Linked DNA regions of Homo sapiens: region 1 is linked to region 2. The links are contacts of gene promoters, found by promoter capture Hi-C in human tissues and cell types (Jung and others, 2019). All regions are on one chromosome and are shown on one strand. The core of a region is centred on a gene start or on the middle of the fragment in contact, and the rest is flanking DNA. Distances in the headings are between cores, read along the strand shown. Region 1 has its middle 30 kb from the start of SPDYE3. Region 2 holds the start of PVRIG (PVR related immunoglobulin domain containing).

The links. The method cuts DNA at HindIII sites, captures the fragments that hold promoters and counts their contacts. A contact is called where the count stands out against the background at its distance.
Region 1: a fragment that was not itself captured here is called in contact with the fragment with the promoter of PVRIG in region 2 in 1 of the 25 tissues and cell types used here (adrenal gland).

What each region holds. Positions count from the first base shown.
Region 1 is chr7:100,274,415-100,280,486 of GRCh38, reverse strand. No RefSeq gene overlaps it. Among named protein-coding and RNA genes, the nearest start is that of SPDYE3, 30 kb to the left of the region's middle. The HindIII fragment of the contact is 4,585 bases long and covers 1,529-6,072 here.
Region 2 is chr7:100,218,303-100,224,410 of GRCh38, reverse strand. PVRIG (PVR related immunoglobulin domain containing) reads right to left here and starts at 4,462. Exons shown (of 5, transcript NM_001397246.1): 1 at 4,383-4,462; 2 at 3,947-4,297; 3 at 3,738-3,864; 4 at 3,591-3,651; 5 at 2,921-3,483. The coding sequence starts at 4,440. The coding sequence ends at 3,160. It also overlaps a transcript of STAG3 not described here and the pseudogene CASTOR3P. RefSeq lists enhancers at 2,703-2,802, 2,823-2,922, 4,313-4,382, 4,443-4,572 and a silencer at 3,343-3,392. The HindIII fragment of the contact is 32,066 bases long and covers 1-6,108 here.

The DNA of each region.
Region 1 (6,072 bases), core at 2,572-5,071, 57 kb before region 2:
CCAAACTGCTGGGATTACAGGCGTGAGCCACAGCGCCCGGCCTTTTTTTTTTTTTTTTTTTTGAGACAGTCTCTGTTGCCCAGGCTGTAGTGTAGTGGTACAATCTCCACTCACTGCAACCTCCACCACCTAGGTTCAAGTGATCAAGTGATTTGCCTGCCTCAGCCTCCCAAGTAGCTGGGATTACAAGCATAAACCACCACACCCAGCTAATTTTTGTATTTTTAGTAGAGGGGTTTTGCCATATTGGCCAGTCTGGTCTTGAACACCTGACTTCAAAGTGATCCGCCCGCTTGGCCTCCCAAAGTGCTGAGATTACAGGCATAAGCCACCATACCTGGCCAGAAACCATGATTTTAACGAGCATATGGCCCTGCCCCGAAGAACTGTGGACATACAGGTGAGAGGCAGGCACCCCACGCTGCTGGGAAAAATCACAGAAAGCTTCCCAGAGGAGGTGATGACAGAGGTGAAATAAATATGGATCTGTCAGCCTGTACAAGAGTCAGAGGCCATGAGAGAGTATGGAAGAAGGAGAGAGATCTCTCACTGGAAGGTAAAGTACTAGGCTGGGAATAGTGGCAGATGGGACCAGAGATGTAAGCAAAGACCACACCACAGTGAGCCTTGAATGCCAAGTACATCAGTTATGGGTCTTAGCTGCAAGCAACAGAATCTACTCTGGTCAGTCTACATAGCAAAGAAATGAATGAATGAATTTATTTATTTATTTATTGAGACGAATTCTTGCTCTATTGCCCAGGCTGGAGTGCAGTGGCACGATCTTGGCTCACCGCAACCTCCGCCTCCAGGGTACAAGCTATTCTCCCACCTCAGCCTCCCAAGTAGCTGAAATTACAGGCGTGTGCCACCACATCCAGCTAATTTTTGTATTTTTAGTAGAGATGGGGTTTCACCATATTGGCCAGGCTGGTCTCGAACTCCTGACCTCAAGTGATCCACCCGCCTTGGCCTCCCAAAGTGCTGGGATTACAGGTGTGAGCCACCTCGCCTAGCCACAAATTTATTTTTAATATGTCAAATAAACTGACCAGGTGTGGTGGCTCACACCGTCATCCCAGCTCTTCGGAAGCCAAGGCAGGAGGATCACTTGAGGCCAGGAGTTTGAGACCAGCCTGGGCAACATAGCAAGACTCCATTTCTACCACACACACACACACACACACACACACACACACACACACACACACAAAATTAGCCAGCGTGAGGCTTGAATGCCAACTGTATCAGTTATGGGTCTTAGTTGCAATCAACAGAATCCATTCTGGTCAGTTTACATAGCAGAGGAATTTATTTTTAAAATATCAAGTAAACTGGCCAAGTGTGGTGGCTCCTACCAGTAATCCCAGCACTTTGGGAGTCCGAGGCGGGCAGATCACCTGAGGTCAGATCACCTGCGGTCAGGAGTTCAAGACCAGCCTAGCCAACATGGTGAAACCCTGTCTGTATTAAAAATATGGGAGGCTGAGGAGGGAGGATCACTTGAGCCCAGGAGATTGAGGCTGCAGTGAGCTATGATCACACCACTACTCTCCAGCCTGAGTGACAGAGTGAGACTGTCTCAAAGAAAATTAATTTTTTTTTTGTAAACTATCACAGCCAAGAGGAGCCTAAGAAGACATTACTACTAAATGTCACATGGTGTCATGGATGGGATCTTCGGACAGAAAAAGGAAATTGGGCCGGGCACGGTGGCTCACACCTATAATCCCATCACTTTGGGAGGCTGAGGTGGGTGGATCACCTGAGGTCGGGAGTTCAAGACCAGCCTGACCAACATGGAGAAACCCCCGTCTCTACTAAAAATACAAAATTGGCCGGGGTGGTGGCGCATGCCTGTAATCCCAGCTACTCGGGAGGCTGAGGCAGGAGAATCCCTTGAACCGGGGAGACGGAGGTTGCAGTGAGCCAAGATTGCGCCATTGCACTCCAGCCTGGGCAACAAGAGTGAAACTCTGTCTCAAAAAAAAAAAAAAAAAAAAGAAAAAGAAAAGAAAAAGGAAATTGGTAAAAATTAAGGAGGTCTAACTAAAGTATGGACTTCAGTTAATTACAATGTATTAACTTCAGTTCATTAACGGTAACAAATATACTATACCAGTGCAAGATGTTAATAAAAGGGGGAAATGGTACAGGATATATGAGAATCCTACTGTCTTAACAATTTTTCTGTAAATTTAAAAACATTGTAAGATGAAGAGTCTATTTTTAGAGCACTGAGTAAATTGCATGGAACTAAACACACACACACAATTACATGTAAAACTGATAGAACCTGGGTAAGTTCAGTGGATGGTATTGAAGGCAATTTCCTGGTTGTGAGATTGTACTCTAGTTTTGCAAGCTGTTACCGTTGGGGGAAATTGCATGAAGGGCACGAGGGCTCTCTGGGTAATAATCTCTTACAATTGCAAGTGAATCTACAATTATCTTAAGATAACAAGCCTTATTTTATTTATTTATTTTATAGAGACAAGGTTTCACTGTATTGGCCAAACTTGTCACAAACTCCTGGCCTCGAGCGATCCTCCCACCTTGGCCTCCCAAAGTGCAGAGATTACAGACATGAGCTATAGTACCTGGCCAAAAAGCTTAATTTTAAAACATTGAAAAGAGAACAGGATCTTTTGGAAAGCTGAAGAAATAAAGTCTAGGCTTAAAGTTCTAGGACCCTTACCCAGCACCGTGGGGCAGAACTGGCCTGATAAGAAAATGAAGCTGTGGGCCAGGCACAGTGGCTGACGCCTGTAATCCCAGCACTTTGGGAGGCTGAGGTGGGTGGATCACTTAAGGTCAGGAGTTCGAGACCAGCCTAGCCAACATGGTGAACCCCCATCTCTACTATACAAAAATTAGCTGGGTGTGGTGGTGGGCGCCTGTAGTCCCAGCTACTTGGGAGGCTAAGGCATGAGAATCACTTGAATCCAGGAAGCGGAGATTGCAGTGAGCCAGGATCACACCACTGAACTCCAGCCTGGGCAACAGAGCGAGACTCTGTCTCAAAAAAAAAAGAGAGAGAGAGGGAGAGAGGCAGGCAGGCAGGCAGGCAGGCAGAAAGAAAATGAAGCTGTGGCAGCTTCCACAGCCACACCTTCTCCAGGACTTCACGTTTCTAAATGGCGAGTTGTATTTTCCCAAAATGGCTGCAATAGTAACTTCATCCAACATGCTCTTCCACAAAGTAACTTTGTCACTCCTCCATCAAGAAGCAGGGTCTATGACCCTGTCTTAATCTATTTTTGTTGCTATAAAGGAATACCTGAGGCTGGGTGATTTATAAAGGAAAGAGGTGTATTTGGCTCGTGGTTCTGCAGGCTGTGCAAGAAGCATGGTGCCAGCATCTGCTGCTAGTGAGGACCGCAGGAAGCCTCCTATCATAGTGGAAGATGAAGGCGGGCCGACAAGATCACGTGGTGAGCAACAGACATGCCAGGTTCTTCTAAAGATCCAGCTCTCATGTGAATAGAGCAAGAATTCACTCATTACCACAGGGAGGGCACCAAGCCATTCATGAGGCATCTGCCCCCATGACCCAAACACCTCCCACTTGGCCTCATCTCCAATATTGGGGATCACATTTCAACACGAGATTTAGAGGGGACAAATATTCAGACTATATCAGCCCCCTCCCCTAACTCAAGCTGGGGTTGCACCTGTTTCAACCCAGAGAATACCATGCAGGTGACATCCCTATGATTTCTTTTTTTGTGTGTTGTTTTGAGATGGAGTCTTGCTCCGTTGCCCAGGCTGGAGTGCAGTGGCACAATCTCGGCTCACTGCAACCTCTGCCTCCTGGGTTCAAGCAATTCTCATGCTTCAGCTCCCGAGTAGCTGAGACTGTAGACATGCACCAGCACGCCTGGCTAATTTTTGTATTTTTAGCAGAGACAGAGTTTCACCATCTTGACCAGGCTGGCGTCAAACTCCTGGCCTCAAGTGATCTGCCCGCCTCAGCCTCGCAAAGTGCTGGGATTATAGGCACGCACCACCACACCCAGCTAATTTTTGTATTTTTAGTAGAGACAGAGTTTCACCATGTTGGCCAGGCTGGTGTCAAACTCCTGGTCTCAAATGATCCGCCCAACTCAGCCTCTCAAAGGGCTGGGATTACAGGCTTGAGCCACCGCATCCAGCAGTCACCGCACCCAGCTTGATTTCTGAGGTTAAGTCATAAAAGGCCATGTGGCTTCCAGCTGACTTTCTTGGCACATTTGCTCTCCAGACTCTCCCTGCAATGTCCTCTCTGGGAATCCAGCTGCCAAGCTGTGAGAAGCCCTAGCCCCATGGAGAGAGGCACCCATCAACCAGGCTTCAGACACAGAGTAAAGAAGCTTCCAGGCAACCCCAGCCCCCAGGCATCCAAATCACCGCCAGCATTCAAGCCTTTCCAAGTAAAGGCCAGATACCACAGAGCAAAGACAAACTTCTCACAGGCCCTGTCTGAATTCACAACCTATAGAATTCGTGAGTTCAGGCCAGGCACGGTGGCCCACACCTGTAATTCTAACACTTTGGGAGGCAGAGGTGGGAGAATCACTTGGGATCAGGAGTTTGAGACCAGTCTGGGCAACATGATGAAACCCCATCTCTACCAAAAAATACAAATATTAGCCAGGTGTGGTGGTGTGTGCCTGTAGACCCAGCTACTTGTGAGGCTGAGATAGGAGGATCGCTTGAGCCTGCAGGGAACCGTGATGACGCCACTGCACTCCAGCCTGGGTAAGAGTGAGACCCTGTCTCAAAAAAAAAAGTAGAATTCTCCCAGCACTTTGGGAGGCCGAGGCAGGCAGATCATCTGAGATCAGGACTTTGAGACCAGCCTGGCCAACATGGTGAAACCCCATCTCTACTAAAAATACAAAAAAATTAACTGGGCATGGTGGTGTGCACCTGTAATCCCAGCTACTCGGAAGGCTGAGGCATGAGAATTGCTTGAGGCGGAGGTTGCAGTGACTGAGATTGTGCCACGGCACTCCAGCCTGGGTGATGGAGTGAGGCTTCATCTCAAAAAAAAAAAAAAAAAAAGAATTCATGAGTTAATATAATGTCATTTCCTATTTTCCTTCCTTCCTGCTTTTTCTTTCTTCCTCTTTCTTTTTCTTTCTTTCTTTTTCTTTCTCTTTCTCTCTCTCTCTTGTTTTCTTTCATCTTTCTTTTCTTTCTTTCTTTCATCTTTCTTTTCTTTCTTTGGCTTTTCATTTCTTTCTTTTGTCTTTCTTTTCTTTCATTCTTTCTTTTTGACAGGGTCCTGCCTGGCTGCCCAGACAACAGTGCAGTGGTGCTATCACAGCTCACTGCAGCCTTGAACTCCTCAGTTCCAGTGATTCTCCTGCCTCAGCCTCCCAAGTAGTTGGGACAACAGGCATGTGCCACCATCCCCAGCTTTTTTTTTTTTTTTTTTAATGTTTTAAGACAGGATCTTGCTAGTCACAAACTCCTGGTCTCAAGCAATCCTCCCATCTCAGCCTCCCAAGTTGTTGGGATTACAGGCATGAGCCACCGTGCTTAGAGGCATAAGCCACTGCACCGGGCTATTTTGTCATTTTTCTCCACTAAGTGTGAGCTATGTAGTATATAGTAATTGTTACCAGACAAATCCCTGCTGCCTTCTCTGAAATCCCATCCATGCACCTTTTGCTCACTTCTGAACCTGAGCCATACACAGGTGTGATGTGCCTGCATCTTAGCCACAGGGAGGCTGCAGAAGCTCACCTTGTGAAGACAGGGCTTGTGACATGGGAAATCATCAAAATCTATGCTGGGTGGCCGCCATGCACAGAAGGCCACTAGGTCAGACGAAGTGTGGACTAACAGTAGCCTGTAACAGAAGGGACCTCCCCTCATCGCACCCTGCCCCATCATGATTTGAACCTCTCTAGAACCTGCCATGTTGAATTGGGTGCTGACTTCACTCTGCTTTTTTTTTTTTTTTTTTTTTTTTTGAGACAGAGTCTCACTCTGTTGCCCAGGCTGGAGTGCAGTGGCATGATCTCGGCTCACTGCAACCTCTGCCTCCCAGGTTTAAGCAATTCTCCTGCCTCAGCCTCCTAA
Region 2 (6,108 bases), core at 3,213-5,712:
CGTCTCTATTAAAAATACAAAAATTAGCCAGGCATGGTGGCACGTGCCTGTAATCCCAGCTACTTGGGAGGCCGAGGCAGGAGAATCACTTGAACCAGGAAGTCAGAGGTTGCAGTGAGCCGAGATCGCACCACTCCAGGCACTCCAGCCTGGTGACAGAGCAAGACTGTCTCAAAAAAAAAAAAAAAAAAAAAATCCTGTTGGAAAGTGAGGCAAGGCACAGGGTAGAGCTGGCCCCAGAGCCTCACTCTCCACCTCTCTGGCCTACCTTGCCCTGCCCTTGGGACAGCTGGAACCTCAGCAGTCACAGGGCTGCCTTCTGTGTCTCCCTCCAGAGCTGCCCTCCTCGGAGCACCTGAGTGTGGCGGATGCCACCTGGCTGGCCCTGAACGTGGTGTCCGGCGGTGGCAGCTTCTCCAGCTCCCAGCCTATTGGCATGACCAAGATCGCCAAGTCAGTCATCGCCCCACTGGCTGACCAGAACATATCCGTGTTCATGCTGTCCACGTATCAGACAGACTTCATCCTGGTGAGCTGACCATCACAGACACGCCTTGCACACTTGGGCCCGCCTCTGACACACTCACTCCCATCTCCCACCCCTTGCAGCCTTGCCCTTCCACGCTATTCCAGGGTGGGGGCAGAGTCTCAGGGTGAGAGGTTGGTGCCCCAGGGCCACCAGGCACACACAGCCTCAACTTCTTGCCCCTAGGTGCTCAAGCGGGACCTGCCCTTTGTCACCCACACGTTGTCATCAGAGTTCACCATCCTGTGGTCAGTGGCTAGACTGTAGCAGCCGAGAACCTCGGCATCACCAGTGGCTTCGTGAAGCCCAAGCTGGGTGAGCTGGGGGCGGGGGTTTGTGCGGGGAAACCTCACGAAGTTACCAGGCCAAGCCGTAGACCAGCCTTGCTCTCAGCACGGGCTTCTGCCCACTGAGCATGAATGGAGTGCCAGGCAGAACGGGATGCAAAGGGCAAGGTGTGGTGGCTCATGCTTGTAAACCCAGCACTTTGGGAGGCCGAGGCAGGCAATTCACCTGAGGTCAGGAGTTTGAGACAAGCCTGACCAACATGGAGAAACCTGGTCTCTACTAAAAATACAAAATTAGCTGGGTGTGGTGGTGCATATTTGTAATTCCAGCTACTGAGGAGGCTGAGGCAGGAGAATCACTTGAACCCAGGAGGCGGAGGTTGCGGTGAGCCGAGATTGTGCCATTGCACTCCAGTCTGGGCAACAAGAACAAAACTCCATCTCAAAAAAAAAAAAATGTGATGGAAAGGTCCTGGGCAGGCCCTGCTGCCATGTCTAGCAAGGGTGGTGGACGTGCATGCATACAGCAATGGCCAGAGGCCACTCCTGCTGCAATCCCAGGTGTCAGGGTGGGTTTCCCTGGGCAGGGACTGTGGTGCTGAAGCCTGGAACACAGGTAGGAACGGGGCCAGGTGGTGCCAGTTGGGAAGGGCATCCCAGGCAGCCAGCACAGCATGTGCAAAGGCCCAGGGGCCTGAGAGTGAGATGGAGAATCAGGACGGTGGTAATTGGTGGTAGAGGCTGGAGAAGCAGCAGTGAATGAGTCTCTCAGGGCCTGCGGCTGAGCCCTCCCCAGCCCTCTTCCCAGGCCCTGCACTCACCAGAGCTGCTGCTTTCAGTCCCAGCCTCAGTGCCTGACATCTTTGTGCTCTTACAGTCCAGATGCCGGTCATCCACCCACTGTCCAGCCCGAGCAACAGGTTCTGTGTCACCAGCCTGGACCCCGACACGCTGCCTGCTGTTGCCACACTCCTCATGGATGTCATGTCCTACTTCAATGGGTAGGGCTGCCTTGGGCATGAGGGGTCGCCGGCTGGACCAGGGGGAGGCACGGCTCTGCCTAGGAGTCTTAGTCTGACGGGGGAGGCTTTGCCAGGAGCTCATCTGAGGGAAGAGACACAGACCTTCCCTGGAGCTAGTCTGAGCGGGGAGACATGGACCCACCCCGGAACTAATCTGAGTGGGAAGGCAAGGACCCGTTCCAGAGCTAGTCTGAGCGGGGAGACAAAGACCCGCCCCAGAACTAGTCTGAGGTGGGAGACATGGACCTGCCCTGGAGCTAGTCTGAGGTGGGAGACACAGACCCGCCCCGGAGCTAGTCTGATGGGGGAGACACGGACCCGCCCCAGAGCTAGTTTAAATGGGGAGACACAGACCTGCCCTGGAGCTAGTCTGAGGTGGGAGACATGGACCTGCCCCAGAGATAGTCTGAAGGGGGAGACACGGACCAGCCCCAAAGCTGGTCTGAGGTGGGAGACAGGGACCCACCCTGGAACTAGTTTGGGGTGGGAGACACGGACCCGCCCTGGAACTAGGCTGAGGGGGAGACACAGCTCTACCAAGCAGAAAGGTTGGCTCTGGATGGAACATTTTGTGGGGAGTCCCCCATGTCTGTGAAGGCCTCTGCCTTCCCCGAGAGGAGGCGGGGGAAGTGATTGAGGGAAGATTTCAGGTGAGTCCCCCTACTCTCCACACCCTGCCTAACGCCAGCTGTGGAAGGAGGGCATCAGGACCCCAGCCCAGGCCACAGCAGGGAGCCCAGCAGAGGGAAGCCAGGTCAAACCACAGGGACTTCTCTCAGGCCAAAGCCCCAGGAACCCTTGCTGTTGTCCTAGAACATGGTGGGATTGGAGCAGAGACCATCCCACTGGGATCCCCCAGCCCTATCTAGGCAGCCACAGGTGTCCCTCAGGAAGCTCCCCCAACACCCCTGCCACTCTGAGAAGCCAGGACAGATCTCTAAGATTGGGACACTGCCCTCTCCCTGGGCCAACCCCAGCCCTGCAATGAGGCCCCAACCCACTCTGGTTCTCACCTGGCTTCTGCCTCCCAGGGGTGGAGACTGCCTCCCCACTCTCTTCACCCCCAAAGAAGAAGCACAGCCGAGGCCGACATCAGAGAAACTGTGTTGCTGACTTAGTTGCAGCAGGAAATGACTGAAATGGGGTAACTGTCACTCACACACTCACACCTGTGCCCACACACGCACACACAGAGACCACATCCGCAGCAGGTGGGCCTGGCCAGACACCTATGGGACACTTATTGGAGGCCCAAGAATTAAAGTAAGGGGGTGACACCCAGGAGGCCTGGGAGGGGGAAAGCCCAGTGGCCTCATGGTCTCTCTCATCGAACTCCTAAGGGTCCTTCCATGGCCCTGGGCCCCCGAGGGTCAGGGAAAAGAGTGAGGCCGGGACCAGTGTGAGGAGGCCTCTCCCCTGCCTGAGCGTAGAGTCCATTCTCAACAGAGACAAAGCTGCCACGTGCAGGGATGGGTGTGGAGGCCCAGGCGGCAGGGCCCTGGGGCCGGTGTGCAGCGTGGGTGGGGAGTGACGCCCACCAGGACGGCCCCCCATGGGGGTGAGCTGTGTCCAAAGTAGCTGGGCGGCAGCTGGTGTTGATAGTGGCATAAGGGACGTGAAGAGCAGCCTGGGAGGCCTGGCTTGGTGCCTGCGCGGGGGAAGGAGGGTCAAGTGAGTCTGCACAGCTTGGGCCCAGCCCTGGCCCCCCTGCCCCTGCCCCTGTCACCTCATCCCCAAAGCAGGTCCCCTCCTCACCCATGCTCGTGCTCTCGGTGCCTGGGGGCTGGTGCGGGACGGCTGGAGCCTAGGGGCAGGGCTGGGAGAGAGCAAGGATGGTCAGAGCTCTGCAGGGCATGTGGCCATCCCAGTGTCAGGGGGACGTGGACAGGGACCAGGTCTCACCGGTGCTTATGTCGGCGCAGCAGATGAAGGAGGTAGACACAGCCAAAGAGGAGGACTCCTGAGACCCCCAAGATCCCGGCCAGGTCTGCCCGCAGAATGGGGGCAGGAGTCGGCGGGGCAGAGAGCCCTGGGCACGGAGACAAGAATCAGATGGGTGGCCAGTTCCCGAGCCCCTCCCTGCCCTCCTGGACCCCTCGCCCCGGCCCCACCTGGGTCTGAGCTGGGCGGGAGGCTCCCACAGGCCTCCCAGGAGCCCTCAGGGAAGGACGCAAACTTGCAGCAGAAGGTGGTGTTGGCGCAGGGGCTGCTGGCCCCAGAGCCTTCCAGGATGAGAGAGATGCTGCTCTGGGTTTCCCAGCGGGCCTGGCGAGCAGGGGCCCATTGCCGGATGCCACGTTCTGGGTGCAACACAGCCAGCGTGGTCCCCCCAGCACCGTTGGGGCCCCCCCAGCTCACAGTCACCAGGGAGATGGAGCCAGACCCCAGGAACCCACAACGGATGGTGAAGGACGAGAGCTCGGTGGCCTCCATCCGAACTTGAACCCACACCTCCGGGGTCCCTGTGGAACAGCAGCAAGGTCGGTGGGCTGTTGTCCTACATCACCCTCCCTGCAGCCCCTGCCCCTCTCTGGTGCCGGCACTCACCCGCAGTGACACACAAGGTCAGCAGCACCCAGGGCAGGACCAGGGTCCGGTGCCCCATGGCCCCCTCCAGTCCAGGTTCTGGGGGCTGCAGGGCCGGCACCTGTGCCTCTGTTCTCATCGCAGGAAGTCTTCATGTTGTCAGCAGCCAAACAGCCACTTCCTTCTCTCCTCTCACACCTTCCCCAGAGGTGGTGAGCACAAAGTGGCTGATTCCCTTCTTAAAGTGACAGTGAGGGCCTGCTCAGTCCCCAAGGCTGTGCTTCCAGGTAACAAGGCAGGGCGGCACAGGTGGGTGAGAACCCAGCCCTGGCTAGGCCTGGGGAGGCCAGGGGAGGGGCAGAGAAGCTGTCAGGGGCTAGAAGGACTCCCCTTCCCTGGACAGCAAGGGGTGCCGGGCTTCCCTAAGAAAGGGCTCTGTCCCGCCCCTCACCCAGCTAAGGAATCGGAGGAGAAAGCCCCTGGGAGTGGGAAGCCAGCAGGGAGGACCTGAGAGCCAGCCCAGCATGCATGACCCACTACCAATCTGATGTGGGTCCCACGCTTACACCTGCAATGCAGGCCTCCCCCACAACCCCCAGCCTGGCTCGCCCACTACCCACTCATACCTCCTGATCTACCCTGAACGCACCCCATACTGGGCTCTGCCCCAGGCGCTGTCTCCTCGTCATAGGTGATGGCAACTGGCTTCTGGCTGCTCGGGCCCAAAGCACAGCCACCAGTGCCTCTTCCCTTTCACTTCCAACGCACCAAGATTGTGTCAGCAAACAGCAGTCCTCTGCCCTAGCAGTGCAGAAGCCAGGAGTTGAACCCATGTCTCTCACCAGGTTAAGCTGCCTCGCTAAGTTTGGATGTGACCTCAGAAACAGAGGCTACTCCAGCAATACAAGATACTTTATTTTTCGGCTTCTACCTATGCCACCCAATCCCTTCACTGGGCCTAACTTAGTGAATCAAATTAAGTATATTTCCCTCCAAGTTGCCCCAGGATTCTGGGCTCCTTTGCACACTACAGGTTTTCTCTAAACGCCCTGGGTTTATCTATCCTTTGGTGAATTTTCAACTCTTCTTATTTCTCTGCCCTGTCCTGACCAAAAATCTTCAGTGCCTGTTTCTCTCTGCCATCCAAATCCCACACACATCTAGGGGTGAATCGGTGAATCTGCGCTGATGAGTGACACGTTTTGTGAATCCTTTCTAGGATCTCAGTATTTCATCCTATCCCGAGGGAAGGCTCTAAAGAGCTCAAGGAAGACCTCACGATGTCTATGTGTGAGAAGAAACCTTTCACCCCTTCACTATCACACCCCATCATCCAAGCACACACTCCTCTTTCATCCCATAAACCCCAGTCAGTGTCACCTGGAGTTATAAGGATGCGGTGACTTACCTAGTAACGGAAGACTCTCAGTAATCTGAAAAAGAAAAATCCCTTCACTTTATAACTGAGGAGATAACACCAACAAGTCACTTCCAGCAGAGCTCATGGCCACAGTGCAAGTTAAAAAAGGTAAAGCCTTATTGAAAATAATCTTAAAACAATTATTCAATATTAACAGACAATGCCCAGCAGTGCCATGTGGGAGGCAAGCCACCCAGCTGCCAAGGCAAGAGACCGAGGGCACAAGCTGTTCCAGTATAATAAAGAAAATACATAGAATAAGAATAGTTATACTAGAAATAGATTATAGCTATGATTATATATATTACTAATCATTAGTTTATAGCA